Linked DNA regions of Homo sapiens: all the other regions are linked to region 3. The links are contacts of gene promoters, found by promoter capture Hi-C in blood cells and fetal thymus (Javierre and others, 2016). All regions are on one chromosome and are shown on one strand. The core of a region is centred on a gene start or on the middle of the fragment in contact, and the rest is flanking DNA. Distances in the headings are between cores, read along the strand shown. Region 1 has its middle 12 kb from the start of CISH. Region 2 holds the start of RASSF1-AS1 (RASSF1 antisense RNA 1). Region 3 holds the start of RPL29 (ribosomal protein L29).

Region 1 (4,083 bases), core at 115-2,614, 1.4 Mb after region 3:
AAAAGGAGAGATCCTGGCAGAGATCACTGTTAACCCAGGTGTGTGCATGCCTGCGGGGGCGTGCTCCCGGGCATCCTTGCCAGATCAGCACCATCAGCCTGGCACCTAGTGGGCAAGCTGAGCTTATAAGGGCAGGCAAAGCTGGGTGGCCCTAGGAAGTTGCTGCATCTCGCCAGGACATATATGGCTCAAAGTAGGCCAGGGTCCTGGGTTTGCTGTTGTGGGATCAATTCACTTTCTCTCCTACCCAGAGGTGCCTGGTTGGGAGCTGTGGGCTTTGGGGGCAGGAGCACCTCCTCCCAGCACCTTGACAATCACCCCCTTTCTCTTCTGGGTCTCAGTGAGTAACTAGGGTGGGTGCTAGCTTCCAGAGGATCCCTGGGCCTTGTGTAGGGCAGAGAAGGCCTGGCGTGGGCACCCCCCACCCCCAGCCTGGGTGAGGTGTTTTCGCCAGAATTGCAGCAGCTGGGGCTGGAGGCCTCTTCCCAGGAAGAGCAGAGCGCCGCTTCCAAGAACTCAGAGGAGGCCGCAGGCGGGAGGGGGAGCGGGGGAGTTAATTTTAAACCACACTGCCTTCAACGCTTCTCAGGAACTGGTTGCTCAACGTGATCTGGCAGGTCCCAGGCGGCTGGGCAGGCCTGGTGCCAGCTCAGAAGTGGCGGGTGGAGGACACGCCCCAGGGGGAGGCCTGGTGACCTTGAGGGAAGTAGGGCCCTGTCCTTGACCACTTACCAGGGCCTGTCCCTCATTCACCCGACCCAACTTTGCTGGGGGGTGTGAGGTGGGGTAATTTATTCAGTTCTAACCAGGAAAGGTAAAATTATAACAGGATTAATAACACAAGTGTCATGGCCTTCCAAGGGCCCCAAGACGATCCCATCCCCCTTCCCTGCTCAGAACCTGCCTGTCCTGCACCCTGGCCTGTCCTCTGGAGGTTATCTGATGAGGGCCTATTCTGAGGGTAAGGCCTGTGCTGATTCTCTATGGGATGGGACCCTGGTGCCAGGCTAGTGGGGGGAGTAGAGTCGGGGGGTGGAGGGTGGCATGTGGCAAGCTGGTGGAAGTTCTGGACCAAGGGAATGAGCCTCCTTCTTGTGCAGGGAGAACTCATGGGCCCGCACCCCATGGTTGACTGCAGTCAAAGCACCTGCATTTCACCGACCTCCTGTTGGAGGTGTTGACCACCCTAGTGTGGCCAACCACTCCCGGCTGACAGCCTAGGCCCACCTCCCAATGTTTGGTCCATGGAATGTTCTACCTGCAGAGGCACCTCCCAGTGCACCCCCTTCCCCCACTACCCCCACTGGCTGCCCTCTGAGACCCCAGCAGTCTGGGCAGAGCAGGTCTCAAGTTCTAGGAAAGGATCCTAAGCAAATGCTGCCAAGAGCTGCAGTTCTTGGAACCAGCACTGCAGGGCGAGGGGACACTTCCTGGAACCTGCTGGCCCTTCCAGGGAGTGAGGCTCAGAGGACAGCCAGTGACCTGGGGTAAGTGGGGGGAGAGGGTACTGAGCCCTTAGCTTCGGTCTCTGCCTCCAGGAAGCCCTCCCTGACTGCAGGTGCCTCCTTAGACTCCTCCATCCCGGTGCTGGATCTGGCATGACCTCTGAAGTGCCCGGTGTCCAGCCTGGCAGAGTGGACGACGAGAAACAGGTGTTAGTAGAGAAAAAAAGGGCATGTGTACCTATGGAGGCAGCGTGTGGGTGTGGGTCCACAGTGAAAGCAGGAGGTTAGACAGGAGTGTCCTGCCTAGGCCAGTGAGCAGCCGGGGGTGTGAAGCACCAAGGGAGAGTAGGAGGGAAAACAAGGTGGGGTCAGCAGTGCCAGGCCCTGCTCACTGAGCCCCCTTTGCTGGTGGGCAGCCTCTGGCTCTAGTCACTCCTTCAGGACAGCCTTGTCTCACCCACACTTCCCTGTCCCACAGCAGGGGGCCCAGGCCCCAGCTTCAGCATCAAGCCACCCAGGACATGCATCTGGCCTTTTGGAAAATAGCCTGGAGAATGCAGAGGAGAGGCTGCAGTGAGTGGGCACTGACAACTGTCTGGGACTGGGTTGAAGTCTGGCCACATTTCAAGGGAATGGCCATGAGTGTTCCCATCACAGGATCCCAGGAGCAGCATTGTTAGAGCAGGGGCCTGGAAGTATGGCTGAGGGTGCTGAGTGAGCAGGTCAGGGTCACATAGCTGGGAGGCACTAGGACAACCTTTTAACCACTCATGACCCCTTTACCTTCAGAATGGAGAACCTCCCCTGGCCAAGGCTGGACGGGGTGTCGGCAAGAACTTGCCTCTCTCCTCCCACCCTCAGGTCACTCCTTGGCCCTCACTGAGCACAGCGCCAAGCGTGCTACCCATCCACCCCAATGTCACAGAGAAGATGGGGACAATGCTGGCGTTAAGAAGGGCTAGGACCCAGTGGGTGGGTGGCAGCTGTGAGGTGGGGCTATGGCAGAGAGGTCCTCCCTCCCCTGTAGGAGGGCAGTGGGGCAGCCCAAGGACACAGGTCATTGCTGTGCTTGTACTCTGCAGTGGCCAGTTCTCAGAAGCTACCTGGGGCAGCTGGCAGTGGGTGGGAGTGCTGCATTCTCTGTCACTTAGAGGCCTTGATGCCTGCACCCAGGTCAGGCTGGCTGTGGCTGGAAAGAACCTGCTGTGGATGAAGTTGACCTGGGACCCACGTGACCTGAGTGAAAAGAGCTATGGGTTTGCAGGGGACACCGGTGCCCTGCTGCAGGTGGTTCTAGAGCTAGGTATCCTGCATCGTGACTTGAGCAAGTCATGAACCCACTCTGAGCCTCAGTTTCCCACTCTGTTTTTGGTGTTTGGTTTGGTTTGGTTTTGAGACAGGGTCTCACCCTGTTGCCCAGGCTGGAGTCCAGTGGCACAATCTCGGCTCACTGCAGCCTCTACCTCCTGAGCTCAAGCGATCCTCCCACCTCAGTCTCCCAAGTAGCTGAGACTACAGGTGTGTGCCACCACACCCCACTAATTTTTTGTACAGATCTAGTTTCACCATGTTGCCCAGGCTGGTCTGAACTCCTGGGCTCAAGCAATTCTCCTCCCTCGGCCTCCCAAAGCACTGGGATTACAGGCGTGAGCCACTGCACCGGGCCTCCACCTCTACTTTGGGGACAATGTTATCACTTGCCTTATGGAATCGTTGTAAGGAGGAAATGTGTAGACTTGGTGATTTTTGTTTCTCCTCGGAGTCTTCCCCTGGATCCCAACTCACCCCTCCAGCTCCCACTTCACCATGAGCCCATGGAGACATGAGCCCCAGAAGAGCTCTTTCTCTGGTCTCTATTGCAGCAAGAAGTACCTGTGGGCACACTGGAGCATAGGCCTTGATGTTTGCAGTGCTCCAGGCAAAAGGACAAGTGGAGGCTCACATACCAGAATCTAAATATTAAACAACCATAAATCAAGCTGCTAATGAAATGTGTTCTATCCTCCTACTGAACAAATAAGCTTTCATAGGAGTAAAAACATCTGTAAATCTACAGTTTTTATATATCTGAAAGTCAGCAGATATCCAAAATGATGAAACTTAGTAATTATCACTCATGTCCAGGTGTTCAGTGACCTGAGGTTTAAGTGAGAGAATGAAGACTTGCCTGATGCCTAAGATATTCTGTATTTATTCTGTAACATTGATTCTCCTCGTCTTTAGTCTAGTAAAATGATTGATTATGTTGTTACAGTCAAGACTTCTACACTATTACTGTTCTTTTCATAGTAATGATTAAAAAGATTAAAATAAGGCTGGGCATGGTGGCTCACACATGTAATCCCAGAGCTTTGAGAAACCAAAGTGACAGGATTGCTTGAGGCAGGAGTTCAAGTTTACAGTAAGCTATGACTATACTACTGTACTCCAGACTGGGCAACAGAGCAAGACCCTGTCTATAAAAAAAATAATAATTTTTAAAAAGACTAAAATAAAATATTGGCCAGGTGTGGTGGCTCACACCTGTAATCCCAGCACTTTGGGAGGCCAAGGCAGGTGGATCACCTGAGGTCAGGAGTTCAAGACCAGCCTGGCCAACATGGTGAAACCTCATCTCTACTAAAAATACAAAAATTAG
Region 2 (4,649 bases), core at 1,688-4,187, 1.7 Mb after region 3:
GACAGAATGCAAAGAATGAACAAGGGGCCGAGCGCGGTGGCTCATGCCTGTAATCCCAGCACTTCGGAAGGCGGAGGCGGGTGGATCACCTGAGGTCAGGAGTTCAAGACCAGCCTGGCCAACATGGTGAAACCTCATGTCTACTAAAAAATAAAAAAAAATGAGCCAGGCGTAGTGGCGGGTGCCTGTAATCCCAGCTACTCGGGAGGCTGAGGTGGGAGAATTGCTTGAACACAGGAGGCGGAGGTTGCAGTGAGCCGAGATCGTGCCACTGCCCTCCAGCCTTGGCGACAGAGTGAGACTCTGTCTCAAAAAAAAAAAAAAAAAAAAAAAGAACAAGGCTGGGACATTGCAGCGTTCTCAAAGAGAAATAAAGTAGCCATGGAGATAAGAAGCAGGATGATTTGGGCATGTTTATCAGAGGTAGAGACAAGGGAGAAATCAAAGATAAGTTTGGGCTTTTGTCTCCAGTAACTGGGAGCCTAGTGGCCATTTTTGCTGCAAAGAGGAAGCTGGGCAAGTGTAGCAGTGAGGCTGAAGAAAAGGGAATTAAATTTTGGCCATGTTCACTTGAAACGTCTTTTAGACATCCTAGTGAAGGTACTGGCACGGAGGATCTAGTCTGAGGGTTTAGGTCAGTGTTTCAGCCGTGGATCTGGGGCAGATGAATGTAGACAGACCAGGCCAGTGATCAGGACTGAGCCCAGACTTCATCGTGAGATATGGAAGTTGAGTCAGAATCTGCAAAGGAGCTGAGCAGGAGCTGCAGGGGGTAGGAGGAAAACTGGGAGAGTGTAGCCCCTGGGAGTCAAAGGGAGCAAGCTTCAAATGATGCTGAGGGGGTGAGAATGGAGAATGGAACACTGGATTCCATTTGGTAGTACACAGATCGCTGAGGACCCTGTCCCGGGCAGTTTCCTGGAGGAAGAGGCAAGCCTGGCTGGAGTGGGTAGAGGGGAGAGTGAAGGCGAAGGATTAGAGTGTATAGAGACCAGTGTCTTGGTCTGAGGGGAGTAGAGACAGGTGACAACCACAGGGCAGACGTAGGTTAAAGGTGTTTAGTTTTTCCTTCAAGTAAATGGGCAGATGTATTCCATATACGTTCCCAGTGAAGGGCCGGGTGCGGTGGCTCAAGCCTGTAGTCCCAGCACTTTGGAAGGCCGAGGCGGGTGGATCACCTGAGATCAGGAGTTTGAGACCAGCCTGGCTAACATGGTGAAACCCCGTCTCTACTAAAAATACAAAAATTAGCTGGGCATGGTGGCGGGCGCCTGTAATCCTAGGTACTCAGGAGGCTGAGGCAGAAGAATCGCTTGAACCCAGGAGGCGGAGGTTGCGGTGAGCCGAAATCGCGCCATTGCACTCCAGCCTGGGTGACAAAAGCAAGACGCAGTTTTTTGTTGTTGTTTTTTTAATTGCCAATGAGGAAAGGGGAAGTTCTGTGCTAGGCGATAGAGATCCAACTGTTGAGCAGGCCTCTCTGCCTGTGGCCTTCCGGCCGGTTTCCAGACGCCCAGGTGGCCAACATTAGAGTCCGCGTAGCAGTGTGAGGTAACCCACTGAGATAGGTCGGGCCTGCGGAGCCTGGCGAGCAGCGGCCCTCTCCCTGGGGCTTCCCTTCAATCTCCGGGACATTTCCCCGACCTGGAGCTCCTCCGCCTCACCGCCAGGCCTCTCTGCAGATTGCAAGTTCACCTGCCACTACCGCTGCCGCGCGCTCGTCTGCCTGGACTGTTGCGGGCCCCGGGACCTGGGCTGGGAACCCGCGGTGGAGCGGGACACGAACGTGGTGAGCGCGGGGCCGAGGGCGTATGGGAAGGGCGAGGATGGGCAGGCCACAGTGCAGGCATTCTCGAGGGCTGCCTGGGTGCCGCGCGCAAGGAGCGTTCTAATTGCCGATTTCCCGGCGGCACAGAGAGGCTAATTCTGCGCGGGGGCTGGGAGGGGAGCCTGGATTGCCGGCTCCGCAAGTACTCCACCCGCTGCAAGCGGACCCGGGCCCAGGCTGACCCAGGCTCCGCGCACGCGCACTTCCCGCACCTTCCCGCCCTCGCCTCCGGCCAGAGGCCACTCTTGTGCGCTTGCCCGGACGCTGGCACCCGCCCCCGTTCCCTGTGGTAGGTGGGGTCTGTGAGTGGAGCTCCGGAGCGATGAGGTCATTCCTGGGGGCGAAGCGTGCGTGTCCCCGCCCCGGCGTTCCTGCCCCAATGAGACAAGAGCTAGATCCCGGCGATCTACGTTTCAGTCTTAACGGTTGCGGCGCGGCTCTGGCCCGGGCGCACGCGCACACTGACACGCGTACACGCACGCACGCGACCGGGGCGGTGGTTGGCGGCTACGGACGCGCAGGACTGGGGGACGGGCGGGTACGGCTATGGGCGAGGCGGAGGCGCCTTCTTTCGAAATGACCTGGAGCAGCACGACGAGCAGTGGCTACTGCAGCCAAGAGGACTCGGACTCGGAGCTCGAGCAGTACTTCACCGCGCGAACCTCGCTAGCTCGCAGGCCGCGCCGGGACCAGGTGGGAGCCAGGGGGTGCCGGCGGGCGGGAGGGGAAGCGGTCGCTGGAGCTCCGCCCTCCCCGGTCCGTTGCCGCGTCCTGGGTCGGTGGGCAGCCCCACCCTCCTGGCTACGTGGCTCCCCGCGGGTCCTGGCCGGGGACCTGCCCGCGGAACCGTGCGTAAGACCCCGATTCCACCGCCTAGATGCTGGGTGCCGGGGCCCCCTTGGTTTCTGTCACAGACAGGTTGAACACGGAAAAAGCAGCTGTATGGCTTGTGGTAGACCTGAGCCGGGCATTATCCAGCTATGACTAAAGCCGACCGAGCAGTTTGGACTAGCACCTCGATTTCCGCGTTCGAATGCTCCTGCTCCCTCCTTGGGGAGACTAGGGGAGGATGTGGAGAGGGAAGAGTCCTCGCCAGGAATTGAGAAGTATGTTTAGGAAAACTTGAGAGGCAGAGAGAGATCCTGCTCCTCCATCTGCACTCCTGTATGGAGCCAGCTGAGCCCTCACCTCTTCCCTGTTCTGGCCTGTCACCAGCTGCTGGAATGTGGAAGATTCTGTTCCCTTCCTCTAGGGTGGATCTGGAGAAAGATTTGGGAATAGATAGGAAAGAAGTCTTGTTTTGGACCATAAGCATTCAGGAGCACTTTACCCACAGGAAGGGGGAAAGCTAGATTATAAAATGCCTAAAGAGGTGGAAAAAGAGATCCAGGTTACTAACCCAGGACTGTAAGGTGTCTCGGAACCTCCTAGGTATCCCCATTATCGGAGAACTGTGTGCCAGATGCCATTGGTGTGACCACCAGGCTCAGAGAACCAGGCCTAGGCACCAGGAAAAAGAAACAGGGACTGTGAAGCTCAGTATGCCTGGCAGAAATGGGGCGGAAATCCTTATTTAAGTAAAGAAAGTGGAGTTGTGAGTGATGCTTCAGATAAAATTTTACAAAATTCCTTACAAAATGGGTGGTGCTCAGCACGCCAAAATCTTAGCCCAGAGCTTGGGTGCAAGGGTTGAGTTGAGTGTAGACCCCTGGGCTTGTCTTCATGTCAGTCAGTCCTGAGCCATTTTCCACTGTGGAAAGGTGGGAAAACCACAAGACACTAACCAATTGAAAAGGAGGGCTAGCCACGGAGGTGCACACCTGTAATCCCAGCTACTTGGGAGGGTGAGGCAGAAGGATCACTTGAACCTGGGAGGCAGAGGTTGCAGTGAGCCAAGATCGTGCCACTGCACTCCAGCCTGAGTGACAGAGTGAGACTCTGTCTCAAAAATAGAAAAGGAAGCCAAGTACGGTGGCTCACACCTCTAATGCCAATGCTTTGGGAGGCCAAGGCAGGTGGATCATTTGCAATCAGGAATTCGAGGTCAGCCTGGCCAACATGGTGAAACCCTATCTCTACTAAACATACAAAAATTAGCCGGGCATGGTGGTGTGTGACTGTAGTCCCAGCTACTTGGGAGACTGAATCACTTCAACCGGGAGGCAAAGGTTGCAGTGAGCCAAGATCGTGCCACTGCACTCCAACCTGGGTGACAGGGTGAGGCTCTGTCTCAAAAAAAAGAAAGAAGGCTGGGCTTGGTGACTCATGCCTGTAATCTCAGCATTTTGGGAGGCCAAGGCAGGCAGATCACTTGAGGCCAAGAGTTCGAGACCTGCCAGGCCAACATAGCAAAACCCCGTCTGTACTGAAAATACAAAAAAATTATCTGGCCATGGTGGTGTGTGCCTGTAATCCCAGCTACTGGGGAGGCTGAGGCAGGAGTATCACTTGAACCCAGAAGACAGAGGTTGCAGTGAGTCGAGACTGGGCCACTGCATTCCAGCCTGGATGAGAGAGCAAGACTCTGTCTCAAAAAAAAAAAAAAAAAAAAAGAAAGAATAGGAGGCTGAGAAGTCCCAAGTTATATGTTAAAAAAAAAGAAAAAAACATCAGTTTTAGGCCAGGTGCAGTGGCTCACACCTTTAATCCCAGCACTTTGGAAAGCCGAGGTGGGTGGATCATGAGGTCAGGAGTTCAAGACCAGCCTGGCCAAAATGGTGAAACCCCGTCTCGACTAAAAATACAAAAAATTAGCCAGTTGTGGTGGCAGGCACCTGTAATCCCAGCTACTTGGGAGGCTGAAGCAGAGAATTGCTTGAAC
Region 3 (4,349 bases), core at 1,657-4,156:
CTGTAATCCCAGCACTTTGGGAGGCCAAGGAGTGTGGATCACCTGAGGTCAGGAGTTCGAGACCAGCATTGCCAACATGGTAGAACCCCGTCTCTACTAAAAACACAAAAATTAGCTGGGCATGGTGGCAGGTGCCTGTAATCCCAGCTACTCGGGAGGCTGAGGCAATAGAATCGTTTGAACCCAGGAGGTGGAGGTTGCAGTGAGCCAACATCGCGCCATTGCACTCCAGCCTGGGCAATGAGAGCAAAACTCTGTCTCAAAATAAATAAATAAATAAATAAAATAAATAAAAGTAAATAAATAAAGTCATCACTGCCCCCGCTGTCAGCCTCTACCCTGCTGGCTTCTCTTTCTCAAGGATGTGGCAGTCAGACCTCCTCCTCCCTGTCCCAGTCTCCACAGCCACCTCTTCAACTTCCTGAGCTGAAGTCCTGACTTGCTGTCAGGCATCACACCACCCCCACCTCCTGTAGCCCCTGTCTTTGCCCACCAGGTTCTCTACCTGTGCTCAGCACCCCACAGGGACTTTATTCCTGCAGAGACACTCTCCTCTGGGCTCAGCTGTTTCTTTCTTGGCACCAGATCATCCATCAGTATATAAGCCTGCTTTTCATTCTCCCAACTCACACCTGTCAGAATTCTCTCCCCTTTCTCAGGAATGCTTTGGTAATGAGTCATCCACATGTCCTGCCTCCACAACCTCCTTTCCGCTTCACTCCCTAAACCTCTGCAGTATGCGTCTGTCACTCCACGAACCTGGCTTGTCAAGGAACGTTCACTGGGCATGTGTTTATTAAGCTCTTGCTCTATCTACATTATGCTGAGTTAGGCAGTGGGAAAATGAAGGTGATCAAACCAGTCCCAAACTCTGGGCTCCTATGATAATGGACACATACACAACTAAGTAAACAATGCAATTAGAGTCTGGGAAAGTTCTATAAAGAAAGCAAACCATGGCCGGGCACGGTGGCTTACGCCTGTAATCCCAGCACTTTGGGAGGCCGAGGCGGGCAGACCACCTGAGGTCAGGAGTTCAACACCAGCCTGGCCAACATGGTGAAAACCCGTCTCTACTAAAAATAATTCTTTAAAAATTAGCTGGGAGTGGTGGTGTGCGCCCGTAATCCCAGCTACTCAGGAGGCTGAGGCAGGAGAATCGCTTGAACCCGGGAGGCAGAGGTTGCAGTGAGCTGAGATCGCACCACTGCACTCCAGCCTGGGAGACAGAGTGAGACTGTCTAAAAAAAAGAAAAAAAAAAAAAGAATAGAAAAGAAAGGAAACCATGAGAGGACACAGAATCACTGGTGAGATGAGGCAGTGGTTCTCTATTTTAGATAATGGAGTCCAGGGAGGCCTCTATAGGAAAGAGCACACCATCCAAAAAGCAGGGAGAAGGGCAGTCCAGGTGGCTGGGATAGCAAGTGCAAAGGTCCTGAGGCAGAACACACATTTGTGGTTGGCAGGAAAGAAAGGCAATGCGTTTGGAGAGAAGTAAATGACAGAGGTTGTCAGGGTCAAGTGGGTAAAGAATTGATCTTCAATGCAAGGGGATGTCCTTGCAGATTTAAGGGACAGGATCTGATTTGTATCTTAAAACAAGTCCCCAAGCCCCACTGCCGTGTGGAAAATGAACTATAGGGGGAAGAGGTGGAGAAGGCAACAGAGTTGTTAGAGGCAACAATTTCTCAATTCTGATGTCCAACAGGCATCTCACATTTAATGCATCCAACAAAAATATCTGGCTCATCATTCCCCCTCAAAACAAAACAAACAAAGCCCCTGCTCCCCACTCAATCTTCCATCTCTGTAAACAGCCCACCATTCACCCAGTTGTCAAGCCAAAGACATAGGGGCTATCCTTGCCTCCTTTTTCTCCCTCATCTTCTGTGTCCCAAGTCCAGTACTCTTTCTTTGTCCACTCCTCTGCATTCCCACTGTCCTCCCTCAGGTCCAGGCAGCCCTCTCTCCTTCCTCCCCTCTGCTCCTTCTCCACGAAAGAGTCAGGCGTGCTTTTCTTTTTTTTTTTTGAGACAGAGTCTCGCCCTGTAGCCCAGGCTGGAGTGCAATGGTGCGATCTTGGCTCACTGCAACCTCCACCTCCCAGATTCAAGCAATTCTCCTGCCTCAGCCTCCAGAGTAGCTGGGATTACAGGCACGTGCCACCACGCCCCGTGAATTTTTTTTTTTTTTTTTTTTTTTTTTTTGGATTTTTAGTAGAGATGGGGTTTCACCATGTTGTCCAGGCTGGTCTGGAACTCCTGACCTCGTGATCCGCCCACCTCAGCCTCCCAAAGTGCTGGGATTACAGGGGTGCTTTTAAGAACACAGATCGGCCAGGTGCGGTGGCTCACGCCTGTAATCCCAGCACTTTGGGGGACAGAGGCGAGCGGATCGCGAGGTCAGGAGTTCGAGACCAGCCTGGCCAACATGGTGAAACCCCGTCTCTACTAAAAATGTAAAAATTAGCCGGGCGTGGTGGTGGGCGCCTGTAATCCCAGCTACTCGGGAGGCTGAGGCAAGAGAATCGCTTGAAACCGGAAGGCGGAGGTTGCAGTGGGCCGAGATTGTGCCACTGCCCTCCAGCCTCGGTGGAAGAGCGAAACTCCGTCTCAAAAAAAAAAAAAAAGAAAAAGAACACAGATCTTCTTGCCCAACAACATCCCTCAAGGACTCCTTTCTTTTTCAGTATCTTGAATAAGACTTAAGAGACAGGTCCTGGAGAAACAGAGAAGGGAGGAGGCAGCCTGAAGGGGGCGGAGGCAAGCTCGTAGCACCGCCTCCACGTCTGGCTTGCGTTCTTCCGGGCTTCGGAACTTTTCTTCGCGGAGCCTGGGGAAGCTTTTCCAGTAGTACTTTCCGGCGTTGTTGACCCTATTTCCCGTGCTGCACCGCAGCCCCTTTCTCTTCCGGTTCTAGGCGCTTCGGGAGCCGCGGCTTATGGTGAGTGTTGGCCGCGCGGCATCCGATGCCATCCGCGACTTACGGGTGGCGGCGGGGCGCGGGCTGCGGAGAGGACTGGTGACCGACCGTGTGTCTGTCGGGAGCAAAAGCTGCGGGGTGGGAATGGTGCTTCTAGGTCCTAGGAGGGGGATGGCAGGGAAAGCCACTTTATTGGGGAATGCAGCTTTCCGGGGGTAAGGAGTTGATTTCAGGGCATCATTACCTGGGTTTGGGAGGCCAGGACTGGCGTTTGGTCGTGCAGAGTAAGCCGAGACTCGTGGAGGCTGCACATTCTCTGCCTGCAGGCTCATTCTGACCAGAATGGGGGGGGCAGAGGTGGCCCAGCCTGGCGAGCCCTTAACCCTGATCTCCACTTTTGTCTTCCAGGTGCAGACATGGCCAAGTCCAAGAACCACACCACACACAACCAGTGTAAGTTTTTTGGGCCCTGCCTACATCCCAGACCCTGGCAAGGACTGGTTCAGGCAAACTGGGACAGAGATGAAGGGGCACGTTTCCATTGTGGGCCTGAGGCTGATTGATTTCACCCAGTAATAACTTTAGGGTTTATAGGTTTAGAGATCTACTTGAGATACAGAGTGTTTTGCATTTAGTAGTAAGGGTTTCCCATATCTCAAGTGTAGCTGCTGTAGGAAGTGTTGGTTCTCCCAGACTTGCCAGCTGTGATGTTGGGTGGTCTTATTAGAGGAAAGTTCTTTGTTGGCTTAATTCCCTTTTTTTCTCCCACAGCCCGAAAATGGCACAGAAATGGTATCAAGAAACCCCGATCACAAAGATACGAATCTCTTAAGGGGGTGAGTGCACTGAATCACATGGAAGTGTCTTTTCTTGGTTCCAGGTGCACAGTCAAGGCCTCTCATGTAGTTTTTCTCTAGCTTTGGCTTCTGCCTGAGCACAGCCTAACTGGCCCACCCAAAGCCTGCAATTCCTTTTTCTACCCTACCAGACCCATAATAAAGCTTTCCTTGGTCTCCACAGCCTGAAGTGTAACCCTCTGGTCAGGGTGTAACCTGCCTCCTGAGGGCAGTTTGGCTATCTCCCTTGCTTGGCAGTGGCACTTAGGGTAAGGAGTGGCCTTGTCTGAGTGCGTGCAGGGCACATTCCCACACTGACCAGCCTTATGACCTCCATCTGACCCAGTGCTGGAGTTGGGGTCAGCTTCTCTTCCTGTGTCAGGGGGTTCTAAGGATTAGCTGAGAAGGCTGGAGGGTCTAGGGGAGAGCTGAGCATGTCCCCAGTCTGTTCCTTCCCTTTACTTTTGCTCTCTGTTCCGTGGAGTGAATCACAAACTCTGAGCCTCAGTTTCCCCATATCCCACCTTGGCTATAAGTCTTTTGGACCAGACTTGGTATTTAATTGACACCTTCTTCTAAAGAGGGGAGGG

The links. Contacts are between HindIII fragments. The CHiCAGO score rates a contact against its expected background, and 5 or more counts as called.
Region 1: a contact is called between a fragment that was not itself captured here and the fragment with the promoter of RPL29 in region 3, in 1 of 17 cell types (endothelial precursors). The highest score is 5.1, in endothelial precursors.
Region 2: a fragment that was not itself captured here is called in contact with the fragment with the promoter of RPL29 in region 3 in 2 of 17 cell types (erythroblasts and M0 macrophages); the score reaches 8.1 in erythroblasts.

The regions. Positions count from the first base shown.
Region 1 is chr3:50,597,737-50,601,819 of GRCh38, reverse strand. No RefSeq gene overlaps it. Among named protein-coding and RNA genes, the nearest start is that of CISH, 12 kb to the left of the region's middle. RefSeq lists an enhancer at 1-2,773. The HindIII fragment of the contact is 4,209 bases long and covers 1-3,468 here.
Region 2 is chr3:50,335,045-50,339,693 of GRCh38, reverse strand. RASSF1 (Ras association domain family member 1) reads left to right here. Exons shown (of 6, transcript NM_007182.5): 2 at 1,683-1,789. It overlaps RASSF1-AS1 (RASSF1 antisense RNA 1), which reads right to left and starts at 2,183. Exons shown (of 1, transcript NR_109831.1): 1 at 1,394-2,183. RefSeq lists enhancers at 1,320-1,409, 1,490-1,749, 1,577-2,148 and silencers at 2,220-2,399, 2,470-2,779. The HindIII fragment of the contact is 4,225 bases long and covers 825-4,649 here.
Region 3 is chr3:51,994,452-51,998,800 of GRCh38, reverse strand. It overlaps RPL29 (ribosomal protein L29), which reads left to right and starts at 2,906. Exons shown (of 4, transcript NM_000992.3): 1 at 2,906-2,944; 2 at 3,332-3,376; 3 at 3,695-3,759. The coding sequence starts at 3,340. RefSeq lists an enhancer at 2,802-2,961. The HindIII fragment of the contact is 1,082 bases long and covers 2,845-3,926 here.